Regions from separate parts of the Homo sapiens genome. Here region 1 is linked to region 2. The links are contacts of gene promoters, found by promoter capture Hi-C in blood cells and fetal thymus (Javierre and others, 2016). All regions are on one chromosome and are shown on one strand. The core of a region is centred on a gene start or on the middle of the fragment in contact, and the rest is flanking DNA. Distances in the headings are between cores, read along the strand shown.

The links. The method cuts DNA at HindIII sites, captures the fragments that hold promoters and counts their contacts. A CHiCAGO score of 5 or more calls a contact.
Region 1: the fragment with the promoter of TMEM220 here is called in contact with the fragment with the promoter of ELAC2 in region 2 in 1 of 17 cell types (M0 macrophages); the score reaches 5.2 in M0 macrophages.

What each region holds. Positions count from the first base shown.
Region 1 is chr17:10,727,454-10,733,253 of GRCh38, forward strand. TMEM220 (transmembrane protein 220) reads right to left here and starts at 2,570. Exons shown (of 6, transcript NM_001004313.3): 1 at 2,327-2,570; 2 at 1,578-1,607. The coding sequence starts at 2,398. It overlaps TMEM220-AS1 (TMEM220 antisense RNA 1), which reads left to right and starts at 2,324. Exons shown (of 4, transcript NR_073458.1): 1 at 2,324-2,447. RefSeq lists enhancers at 2,022-2,608, 2,609-3,195 and silencers at 2,209-2,378, 2,389-2,628. The HindIII fragment of the contact is 4,877 bases long and covers 325-5,201 here.
Region 2 is chr17:13,016,547-13,022,524 of GRCh38, forward strand. ELAC2 (elaC ribonuclease Z 2) reads right to left here and starts at 1,481. Exons shown (of 24, transcript NM_018127.7): 1 at 1,157-1,481; 2 at 525-575; 3 at 316-386. The coding sequence starts at 1,401. RefSeq lists enhancers at 797-1,297, 809-918, 939-998 and a silencer at 1,519-1,598. The HindIII fragment of the contact is 8,738 bases long and covers 1-5,978 here.

The DNA.
Region 1 (5,800 bases), core at 1,320-3,819, 2.3 Mb before region 2:
TGGAGGGAAAGATGCTAGGTAGGTCCTTGGGCATATCTGAGGAGCAGTGTGACATGCAGGTGAATATACGCAGCAGTCTTTTGGAAATTCACCATTAAGCTGGATGTCTGAGACTTGTCTGCAGGGAAATAATATTTGGAATTCAAGATACGGACCAGGGTGCCAAGGCAAAGGCAGTTTGATTTGATTCAGAGGCATACTGATCTGGATAGTAAATATCAGAATGTGGTTTTACTGCACTAAAAAAACAAAACCTGGATAGAATTTCATGTTATAATTCCAGATACCATCATCCTTGTTGCTCCTCTGTCAATATTATTCTAAAGCTTAAGAGTCATCTCCTTGGTGTACTGTACAGTCTTGTGTATCTATATTGAGAGAAACTGGGCAAAATTCAGATATTTTGGAAGATAAAAGATATTTAGAGCCGGGCGCGGTGACTCATGTCTGTAATCCCAGCACTTTGGGAGGCTGAGGCAGGTGGATCACCTGAGGTCGAGAGTTCAAGACCAGCTTGACCAACATGGAGAAACCCTGTCTCTACTAAAAATACAAAATTAGCTGGGTGTGGTGGCGCATGCCTGTAATCCCAGTTACTTGGGACACTGAGGCAGAAGAATCACTCAAACCTGGGAGGTAGAGGTTGCGGTGAGCCTAGATTGCGCCATTGCACTCCAGCCTGGGCAACAAGAGCAAAACTCCGTCTCAAAAAGAAAAAAAAAAAAAGATATTTAGAAGATGTATGGAACAATGGCCCCCTCCTCCAAATGGTTCAAATCAGAGCCTTGCTTATATGAAGACTGTAGGTTTTACAGGATTTAATACTTTTCTTTGCTTTTTTTTTTTCTTTTTTTTCTTTGCTTTTTTTTTTTTGAGATGGAGTCTCACTCTGTCGCCCAGACTGGAGTGCAGTGGCACGATCTCAGCACACTGCAACTTCTGCCTCCTGGGTTCCAGCGAGTCTCCTGCTTCAGCTTCCCTAGTAGCTGGGGACTACAGGCGCATGCCACCACGCCTGGCTAATTTTTGTATTTTTTGGTGGAGACGGGGTTTCACCATGTTGCTCAGGCTGATCTAGAACTCCTGACCTCAAGTGATCCACCCGCCTTGGCCTCCCAGAGTGCTGAGATTGCAGGCGTGAGCCACCTTGCCCAGCCAGGAGTTAATACTTTCTAGAAATATAAGTCACTGAATTAGCAGAACCTCAGAACTTAAGCCTGTTATTTTCCGGTCAAAGGTTTGCATTGAGTGTCTGGCTAGAAACTCATAAGGAATTGTTCAACTGATCTTGAGAGGCCTACTCTAGGTCCTCAAGAAAGTCCTCAGTTGGGCCATCTAACCAAAGGGAATACTGCAGAAAGACCTGTTTCCAGAAAGTTCGAAATTCACACACACATTACATTAGAACTCTGATCCTGCCTATTAATATTTTAGGAAAAAGCGCTTCCCAAGGGTTTGATTTTTAAGTTTCTCAGAAAATTAAGCAGGGAGGAGGGGTAAAGACATAAAACCGTGTGTTTTGTGCCGTTCCCCAATTCTTCCAAACGGAGGAAAGCCTGGAAGCGGCTCATACTCACCACCCACACCTCTGCATCTGGGTCATTTACCTGGAACGCCAGAATACCAAGGTGTTAGCAGACATCCTGTGCTGTTCCATTCCTTTTAAATTCATTTAAGCACATTTTTTATTAATTTGTTAAGTGCCAGACACTGCAATAGGCATCGAGGGTACAAAATCTGAACAGGATATAGTCCAGATGAGGACGGGTGAAGGGGTTTCTGGCTGACACAACAGATGTTTTTAACAGGCAGCCACACATTTTTGAAAAGCCTTCACGGGAGCTCTGGAGAGGACTCGCCAACCCAGAACGGGTATTTTAAGGGCCCTCCACCCCCACCAGTCTCAAGAAATGAGGGAAATGATTATGAAGGGGGTCCCCAAGCCGACTAAAAAGTTTAATGATGCTATAAAGGGTTTTGGTCGGCTTCGTCTCCTAGGCCCTGAGATATGTTCAGTGTCGTCCGCGGGCCGGACGTTAACGCAGGAGCCAGGGCCGCTTCTTCTGAGGTCCCCTGGGAAGTTCCACGCGCGGAACCAGCCCCTTCCAGGGTGTGAGCCCTGGTATGGGACTCGCTTCCATGAACACATCCGCGTCTCTTAGACGGGGGAGAAAGTGGGGGCTCCCCAAGCAGAAAGCCCAAGTCCCGTCCTCCCCACTAACTGTGCGCCCCTGCGACTCTGCCCGCTAGTCAGTTACACGGCCCGCTAGGCCAGGGGGCGGAGCTGGGAGCCGGGCGGGTCCCCCTCCCACCGCGGCCGCCTGACCTGCACCAAGGCCGCCAGCGCGAAGAAGGCGGCCATGAGTCCGTTGCAGGCCCGCCACAGCGCTGGCGCCATGGCTCGGAGAACACGGCGCGGGGCGGTGAGTCCTGCCACGTGCGGGGCGGTGAGTCCTGCCACGTACGGTCCGCCTTCCTCCTTGCGCGGAGGGACCGAGACCCCCGCCTCGGTTTCGGTGCCTTGGGGACACTGCCGTGGCCGTCGCTCCGCCCGGGGGCGGGGAGCGAAGGGCGTGGGTGTAGCCCCCACTCAGCGACCCATTCAGCCCGCCCCGAACGCCGCGGGGTGTAGGCGGCGCCGTCCTGGTTTCGCGGATGGGAAAGCGAGTCCCTCAGGGAGCGCAGGTCTCGGTGGTGGACGGAAGTCGAATTTGAACCCGTATAGGTTCAACTCCAAACCCTGTTTTCACTAAAGCTACCTTCCTCACAAAAAAAAAAAAAAAGAAGAAAGAAAAAAAAGAAGGAAAAAAGGAAGGAAGGCAGGCGGGAGGGGAGAGAGGAAGAAAGAGAAAGAAAGAAAAAGAAAGAAGGAAAGAAAGGGCTGGGCGCAGTGGCTCACGCCTGTAATCCCAGCACTGTGGGAGGCCGAGGTGGGCGGATCACCTGAGGTCAGGAGTTCGAAAGCAGCCTGGCCAACATGGTGAAACCCCGTATCTCTACTAAAAATACGAAAAAATTAGTCGGGCGTGGTGGCGGGAGCCTGTAATCCCAGCTACTCAGGAGGCTGAGGCAGGAGAATTGCTTGAACCCGGGCGGCGGAGGTTGCAGTGAGCCCAGATTGTGCCACTGCACTCCAGCCTGGGCAACAAAGCGAGACTCCTCAAAAAAAAAAGGATAAAAATTGTTTTTACAAAAATAAGAAAGAGAAAGAAAAAGAGATGTGTGTGTGTGTGTGTGTGTGTGTGTGTGTGTGTGTGTGTGTGTTCTGTTTAGTATTTATGCATTTCCTTCCAAAGCTCAGGAACTTTCAAATCCCTGTAAGCATTATGGTAATTTCTAGAGTGACGACAGTTATATTAACATCTTATACGGCTCACAGCTTTTCGGCAGACAGGCTCATTTATCTTCATGGGCTTTTATTATAAAAGATATTTACATATTATACATATTTACAATTCTCTCCCACCACCAAAACCAACAAAATTTCCAAAATTGCTCATGAATTTCTTATGAACCGAAGACACTGAAATATTCACTGTTCTCCCCTAGTCTGTCTGGTCTTTTTCTGTTTTGTAATTCGCCCTTCTGCTTAGTTCCTCCCCGGGCTCATTTACACATCCATAGGCCTCATTTCTGCTGTTCTAAAGAGTCTTTATCGCTTCAAATCAGGAGCTTCTGTGCCTGTCCTCTTTTCCTTTGAGCTAAATCTCCTAAAACTGTCTAGTTTTTTTTTTCTTTCCCTCTCAGTTTCATTCTTTTCACGAAACACTTATTTCAAGAACGTTGTCTGCTCTGTGCCTGGTGCTGGGACCGTGAAGGTCCCGTGCCGGGACTAGGCAGGGAGCCTGGCGGCTGGCGGGGGTGGGCACCCGTGTTTGCAGAGGTGGGGTGGGGACAGCGGGGACCAGCACTGGGTGGAGTTCCACAGCTAAATCAGCCCTGGGATTGGAAACAAGCGAAGACTATTCTCACTGTGCTTTTCCTTACATAAAAGAAAAAAATGAGAGCGAGAGTGCTAGGGGCTGACTTGCATTCCCCCTGCACCCCCAATTCATATGCTGAAGCCCTAACCCCCAGTGCCTCAAAATGGGACTGCATTTGCAGACAGGGACTTGACAGAGATGATTAAGTTAAAATGAGGTTATAGGGTGGACCCTAATCCAATATGACTAGTGTCCTGATACGAAGAGGGGACAGTTACAGAGGGAAGACCACATGGGCACACAGGGAGAAGACGGCCGTCTGCAAGCCAAGGGGAGAGGCCTCATGAGAAACCAACCCTACCAACATCCTGAATTTGGACTTCCAGCCTCCAGAACTGTGAGAAAATAAATTTCCGTTGTTTAAGCCACCTAGACTGTGGTACTTTGTTGGGACAGTCCTAGCAAATTAATACAGGGAATGATTATAATACCCACAAGGAAACAATGGCATGGAAGTGCTTTTAAGCTCTTGAATGCCATACAACCACCATGAAGTTTTATAGTTTTCACTGTTGTCTGGGACTTTCTTTTTTTATTTCTATTTTTTTGAGACAAAGTCTTGCTCTGTTGCCCAGGCTGGAGTGCAGTGGCACGATCTCAGCTCACTGCAACCTCTGCCTCCTGGGTTCAAGTGATTCTCCTGCCTCAGCCTCCAGAGTAGCTGGGACTACAGGCGCCCACCACCATGCTGGGCTAATTTTTGTATTTTTTTTAGTAGAGATGGAGTTTCACCATATTGGCCAGGCTGGTCTCGAATTCCTGACCTCATGATCTGCCTGCCTCGGCCTCCCACAGTGCTGGGATTACAGGCATGAGCCACTGCACCCGGCTGGGACTTTCAAAGTCACCTTAGTGAGCGTCTGTTGGTTTTGCCTTTGCAGGGTTCAGTCCCCTTTCTTCGAGGATCAGTGTCTTTAGTACTGTGGATTACCACATGCACTATGGGTGGATGTGGACTACAGGGTTGACCGTGCTCCCCTCCTTTTGGGGATAGGCAGGTGACTTTGGCCTGCCAGCTGACATATCCCATTCTGTTGACCACTGTGATTGGGTCTAGGATGGGTATAGGATCCAAATTGCCCAGATTCAATCCTAGGACCTATATGGGACTTAGGTTGTCAGTAAAGGACAACCTCAGTTGAACTGAATTTTGGATCATCAATGATGTGTTCCAAATATTTGCTAAATCTGGCAATCCTACTCACACTATTAAAGAGAAGCTTTCTTTGTGATGAATGTGTAGAGCTGGTAGAATGTGAGCCTGGAGCTGTCAGGAGAAAGCCTCACAGGGAGAAAGGCTTTCTGCAGGTGAAGTTTAAAAGCCTGGATCCAGCCATGCCTGAAAATGGAAGAATCTCACAACCAACAGAGTCTCTTCTTTACATAAGCCCGTGTGAATTGGGTTTTTGTAATTTGCAACAAAGAATGATGACTTGTAAAGTCATGATTCAATAGTTAAGGCAATGTGTGAAATCCTTGCAAACCTCCTGCTATAGGTTTGTCCAGGCTTTGCAGAGACACGGAAGAGAAGGCTTAGTCTGAAAAGTAATGAAAAATACGTTTAAATGAATCCAATATCTCAGACAGCTCTGCTTGAAGAGTAATTTCATTTCCCTTTTTAGCAAAAGGCTATGATACAATACTGCAGAGAAGATGAGGTTTTAAAGGCAGTAGGGTCTTGTCAAAGCTGGCTTCCCTCTGCAGAAAGGGCAGCACAAAGGACCCTTCATCCTGCTGGACACTCCCTGGCTGCCCAGTCAGTGACAGCATCATAAAAGCAATTGAGCCACAGGAGTGAGGTGAGCTGGACTCACTTC
Region 2 (5,978 bases), core at 231-2,730:
GGCCGAGACAGGAGGATCGCAGAAGTTTGAGACCAGCCTGGGCAACATAGCAAAACCCCGTCGCTACAAAACATACAAAAAAAATTAGCCAGGTGTGATGGGGCACACGTGTGGTCCCAGCTATTTGGGAGGCTGAGGTGAGGGGATCACCTGAGCCCAGAAGGCAAAGGTTGCAGTGAGCCAAGATCACGCCACTGACAAAAAAAAAAAAAAAAAAAAAAGTAGCTGCCCACCCCAGACTTGGAAAAATGGTAAAGCCGGTTAAAATCCCAGAGACTTCCCACCAGCCTCTGACACTGCAAAGAATATACTCACCACTTAAGCCCCCAACATTAGACCAGTGCATTCGTGTCAGGAATATGTTGTCCAGGCGAGCAACCTTTAACCTAAGAATGAAAAAACATTTAAACAGGATAACATGAACAGAACAAGGACCACTTTTGCTATAAAAAACAACTGGCCTCTCATTTCGGCTTTCAAGCCCCGTAATCAACTCCCCCTCCGAAAGCAAGAGACTGACTCACTTGTGCTCCTGCATGAGTCTCTGAACGCCTTCTCCACAGTTGAAGAGATACCTACAAGACAAACATTACACAAGACATTCAGAAGGTTTTATTCTGTAAACTCTCTGACACCAATTAGATGTTTTATTGTAGACTCTGGAAAAAAAAAAAAGAAAAAAAAATTAAAAGTCCACGTTGGACTACCGAGCCACATTTATGCTGGTGGGTTTTGAGCCCTCCTTAGCAGAGGTGGAGAGGAGTGGGGGCCTGTGTGTGTGGGTGCTAGGACAAAATGAGTCCTTTCTCCACCACCGGCTACACACCAGATCTGTCCACCCCACACGCTAACAACGACACACTGGCCTTGGGGTGCACGGAAGAGGGTGGAGCTCCGAAAGTGCTGACAGCCAGGCCGGGGCCCAAGGGTTGGGAAAAGGACGCTCAGACCCAGGCCTGAAGTTCTTCACAGATCCGCAGAAATCACATGGATGCAAAGAATCTCGGATTTCCCACCCACCATAACTCCACGAACCCCCGCAACAGTGAACCACATGTGTGAAGCAGGGAAGCCGAAGCCCTGGGAGGTGCCCCGATGCTCAGAGGCTGCGCCGCACTGAGGGCCCAGCGGGACGGGGCGTGGCTCGTTGACTGACCGGTTGAACTCGGAGAAGACGTAGAGCGCGGCGCCCGAGTCCCGGCTACCCGCTGCCACCACCTGCAGGTACACGGTGTTTGGGCCGCCGGAGCACCCCGACGGTCCGCGCTTCTCTCGCGTGCGCAGGTGCCGCAGCGGGTCCTTGCGCGGCCGCTCGCGGCGGGCGGGTGCCTGCGATATGGTGCGTCCCTGCGACATGGTGCGTCCGGCCGCGGACCGCAGCAGCGAGCAAAGCGCCCACATGCGCCCGTCTCCACCAAAACTGAGAAAGCCGCCGGTCACCTACGCCCGCGTTTCCCGTGCACCACCTAGCCGCTCCGCATGGCGGATCCAGCCAATCAGCGCGCCGTGCACCGAGCTTCCCGCCTACGCGAGGCTGCTCATCCAATAGAAAGGAGCTTTACCGCTCGGGACTTGTCAATTGACAGTGGCCATAGAGTAGAGGAATACTAGAGCGTCTCAAGCGGCCCCGCCCCTAGTTCTGTTCCGGTTTGCCGGCCGCAATTTTTTCCGGAAGCTGTTTTTCTCCTGGGGCGGGACTTCCGGAAGCACAGTGCCAGGAAAAGCCTTCCTGGGGAAGGCGGGACCTAGGAGTTTGGAGTTTCGCTAAAACGCTCCTGTTCTCACCAGATAAGAGCTGTGTCCTCCGGGCACGTCAGTCCCTCAGAGCTTGAGTTAGAGGTGGTTGTAGTGGTTGTGAGGATTAAATGTGAGGAAATCAATTGTATTGAGCATTAGCATAAGCGCTTTGCTAATTTTATTTCCATTGTAATTCGTATGCATACATGTTAGAACTTGATCATTTTTACGTGGTGTCCCGAGCTTGTAGTCCCAGCTACTTGGGAGGCTGAGGCAGGAGAATCGCTTAAGCGCGGAGGCGGAGGTTGCGGTGAGTCGAAATCGCGCCACTGCACTCCAGCCTGGGTGACACCTCGAGACCCTGTCTCAAAACAAAACAAAACAAAACAAAAATTGTAGTGTTTTTTGGAAAGAAAAGCAAGAATAGAGGACAAGCTCTAAAGCAAGAGTCTTGGCTCATTTGTTAGCTGCGTGATCTTGACCTCTCAGAGCCTCAGCTTTCTTATGTGTAAAATGTAATAACAGCAATAACAGTATCTCCTACTTCAGAATATAGAATTCAGTCACCTGATAATATATCAATAGACCTTTGAGTGGCACTGTCACAGAAGAGGCACCCAGTAAATGATAGAAAATTAATACAAAATGTTTCAACTCCTAGACAATATAGCTGACCAGGGACATCACAGAGGTAGATGTCCCAATACCAGCTTTTTGAAAAAAACACCCAGTCCCCTCTTATGTAGCTAATGAGGATTTCTCACTGAAAGGGATATCAGTTAAAGCCGCTAGAAATACAGGGAGCTCCCTTAAAAGAGGAAGATAATTTACCTGGAAGCTCCACTCAAATATGATTTTTTAAAGATAATTTACCTGGAAGCTCCACTGACATATGATTTTTTTAAATAAATACTGAAAGATGTCACTTTTATTCAGGAAGTAAGGGAGATTCAAGTCATGTAGATTCCTACTCGAAAATCTTGACACCTGACTTTCCAGGATCACATTTTCATATGGAGACCAGTTTCCTCTTGGTTTCTTCAGTTAAGTCAAAACTACACGTTCCTCTTTCCCCATATATTTTTGCTCATTAGTGTATTTCTTGAGCTGTTTTCATTCAAATATGAAATTTTTTATGGAAGATTATCACCCACGGTGTGAAAACGTTTTGTACTTGAAATAACCATCCCAGTGAGGGTCAGGAAAACACTTCAGATCTACTTTACACAGTTAGAGGGCGTTACAAACTGAAAAGATTATCATACCACCATCTCCATAAGTATTTGAAATAAAAATGATAGTTTTTAAAAGTTGCTTAAAGCCTGGGCACCGTGGCACATATCTGTAATCCCAGCACTTTGGGAGGCCAAGGCGGGAGAATAGCTTCAGGCTAGTAGTTCAAAACCTGCTCTGTGGCCAGGCATGGTGGCTTATGCCTGTAATCCCAGCACTTTGGGAGGCCGAGGCAGGTGGATCACCTGAGGTCAGGAGTTCGAGACCAGCCTGGCCAACATGATGAAACCCCGTCTCTACTAAAAACACAAAAATTAGCCGGGAGTGGTTGCATGGGCCTGTAATCCCAGCTACTGGGGAGGTTGAGGCAGGAGAATCACTTGAACCCCAGAGACAGAGGTTGCAGTGAGCCAAGATCACACCATTGCACTCCAGCCTGGGTGACAGAGGGAGATTCCATCTCAAAAACAAACAAACAAACCAGCTCTGGCAACAAAGCGAGACCTCATCTCTACCAAAAAATACTAAAAAATTTAAAAATAAGTAAAAATTAGCTGGACATGGTGGCACACACCTGTTGTCCCAGCTACTCTGAAGGCTGAGACAGGAGGATCACATGAACCCAGGGGTTTGAGGCTGCAGTGAGCTATGATCATACCACTTTACTCCAGCCTGGCTGACAGAGTGAGACACTCTCTACAAAAAAAAAAAAAAAAAAAAAAGAAAAAGAAAATTAATTCATTAAAACTACTTTTAAAAAGTGTAGTGCAATAAATAAAATACTGATTTTTTTCCTGTGATGACTGCTTTGATCCTTTTAAAAAATATATCAAATTTCACAAACAAAAATACATTGGTTCCTCTATTTTATTGGTGCCCTATGTGCATATCTATCTGTTGGGTAATCTCAAACTACTTATCTCAAAATTATAGGAGGAATCACTTTTGGTCATCGACTTATATAAAATTCTGAGGGCTGGATGCTATTTAGGTTGTTTCTAGGGCCCAGTGTACTTTCTGCACTTATGCTTTGGGTCATATTTTTATTCCTGGTATATGAAGACAATAGCTAGTACTTCTTCAATCTGAGGTTATACTGGAATGTAAATTTCATGAGCCTGGGATTTGTCTATCTGGTCCTCTGCTGTATCATTAGCTCCTAGGACAGAGTCTGGCTTGTGGCAGACAATAAATACTAGGAAATTAGAAGCAAGCCAGTAGCTTAAATGAGGTTTTCAGTTTACAACTAAGCAGGGCCTAAAATTGAATCAAGACAACAATGTATGTGTTTTCTGAAGGGGATTGGTGTGACTGGTACCTCCAAAAGGATAGTTCAGAGAGTCTGAAACAGAAAAGTGTCTCTGGACTTGCTGGAGTAGAGGCAGCCTGACCATCGGGACAGCAGAGAAAGTGGAAATCGAGGCGACAGACTTTCAGAAGTCAGTGATATTAACAATTAATATAATACAGCCACTTCCTCTTGCTTTGAGTCTCTTTTTGTTATCCATTTTGTATATGGGCAGCTTGTGGCTTGAAATCACTTTCAGTCCTTTTGTTGGTCACGGTTGTGTTTAGTAAGAATAGCCTGTCTCTGCTCCTTGCAGTGGCTGCTGGGTGGCTCAATGGGAGTGGAACCTCACACTCACAGGTGTGGGTCCTGGGTACTGGCCCTGCTGGGGGTGCTTTGGTTCATTTCCCATTGCCTCTCCATCCATGTAGACTGTCCACATTCAGTAGTTAGGCTGAGCTTCTCTGAATGGTGGTCAGCCTCCAAAAGGATGAAATGAAATTGCAATGCTTCTGAAGAATTAGGCCCAGAAGTCAACGCAAGACACAGACAGCACCCACCTAGATTCAAAGGGAGGAAAATTATATTCTACCTCTTGAGGGGAGAAGTATCAAAGTCACATTGCAAAAGAGCCCTTGACGTGGAAAAGTCCAGGCTTTCTTGGAACCCTCTGATTATCCTACGGGGGGGTCCTATGAAGAGATGGCTGCCAGGCAGAATAATCTGGCCAATGAATGCTGGGAGCAGTACATTTTCATATGCCTGTAGTTACAAAGGTATAATTTATAACTTGACTTTCTTCTGTACACGCTTGTAAGTATGGTTGCCATAAGCTAGTCCACTCATATGTGGCCATCTCTTGGGTATATTTATAAATCAGACTTTTGTACCTACAAAGCTGGGGCAGTTCCTGCGATCCCCAAGATCTGGTGATCTGACCAAGGGACACATACTTTGGGACCCTGTCTGAAATACCCTCTGGCTTTCTCCACACAGACATTCATTCATTGATTCATTCAGTACACTCACACACACACACACACGAGTTTCTAGACACTCTTCTAGGGTTCTAGATGCTGTACTAAGACCTTGGTGTACAGAAAGATGAACAAGGTCTTGCTCTCAGAAAGCTCAGAAAGTTGGTGTCTTGGGCACAGGGATGGGGCCCCAGGGCACACAGGAAAACATTATAATAGATGCTTTTGTCTTCATTGGGTCTGAGGTGTTTCTGGTTTAGAGCCCTAGAAACCCAACAACTCCAAACTTGATGGCCACAATGCATCAGAGGGATAATTGGTTTTTGAAACAAAAGTTACTTTGGGCTGGGCACGATGGCTCACAACTGTAATCCCAGCACTTTGGGAGGCCCAGGCGGGTGGATGACTTGAGGTCAGGAGTTTGAGACCAGCCTGGCCAACATGGCGAAACCCCGTCTCCACTAAAAATACAAAAATTAGCTAGGCGTGGTGGTGGGCACCCGTAACCCCAGCTGCTCAGGAGGCTAAGGCAGGAGAATCACTTGAACCCGGGAGGCGGAGGTTGCAGTGAGCCAAGATCGTGCCATTGCACTCCAGCCTGGGCAACAGAGCGAGACTCAGTCTCAAAAAAAAAAAAAAAGTCTGCAGTCACGTACAGCAATGTCCTAGACCTTCACATTCACTCACTGATGCACCCCAGGCAACTTACAATCCTGCAAGTTCCATTCATGGTAAGTGCCTTA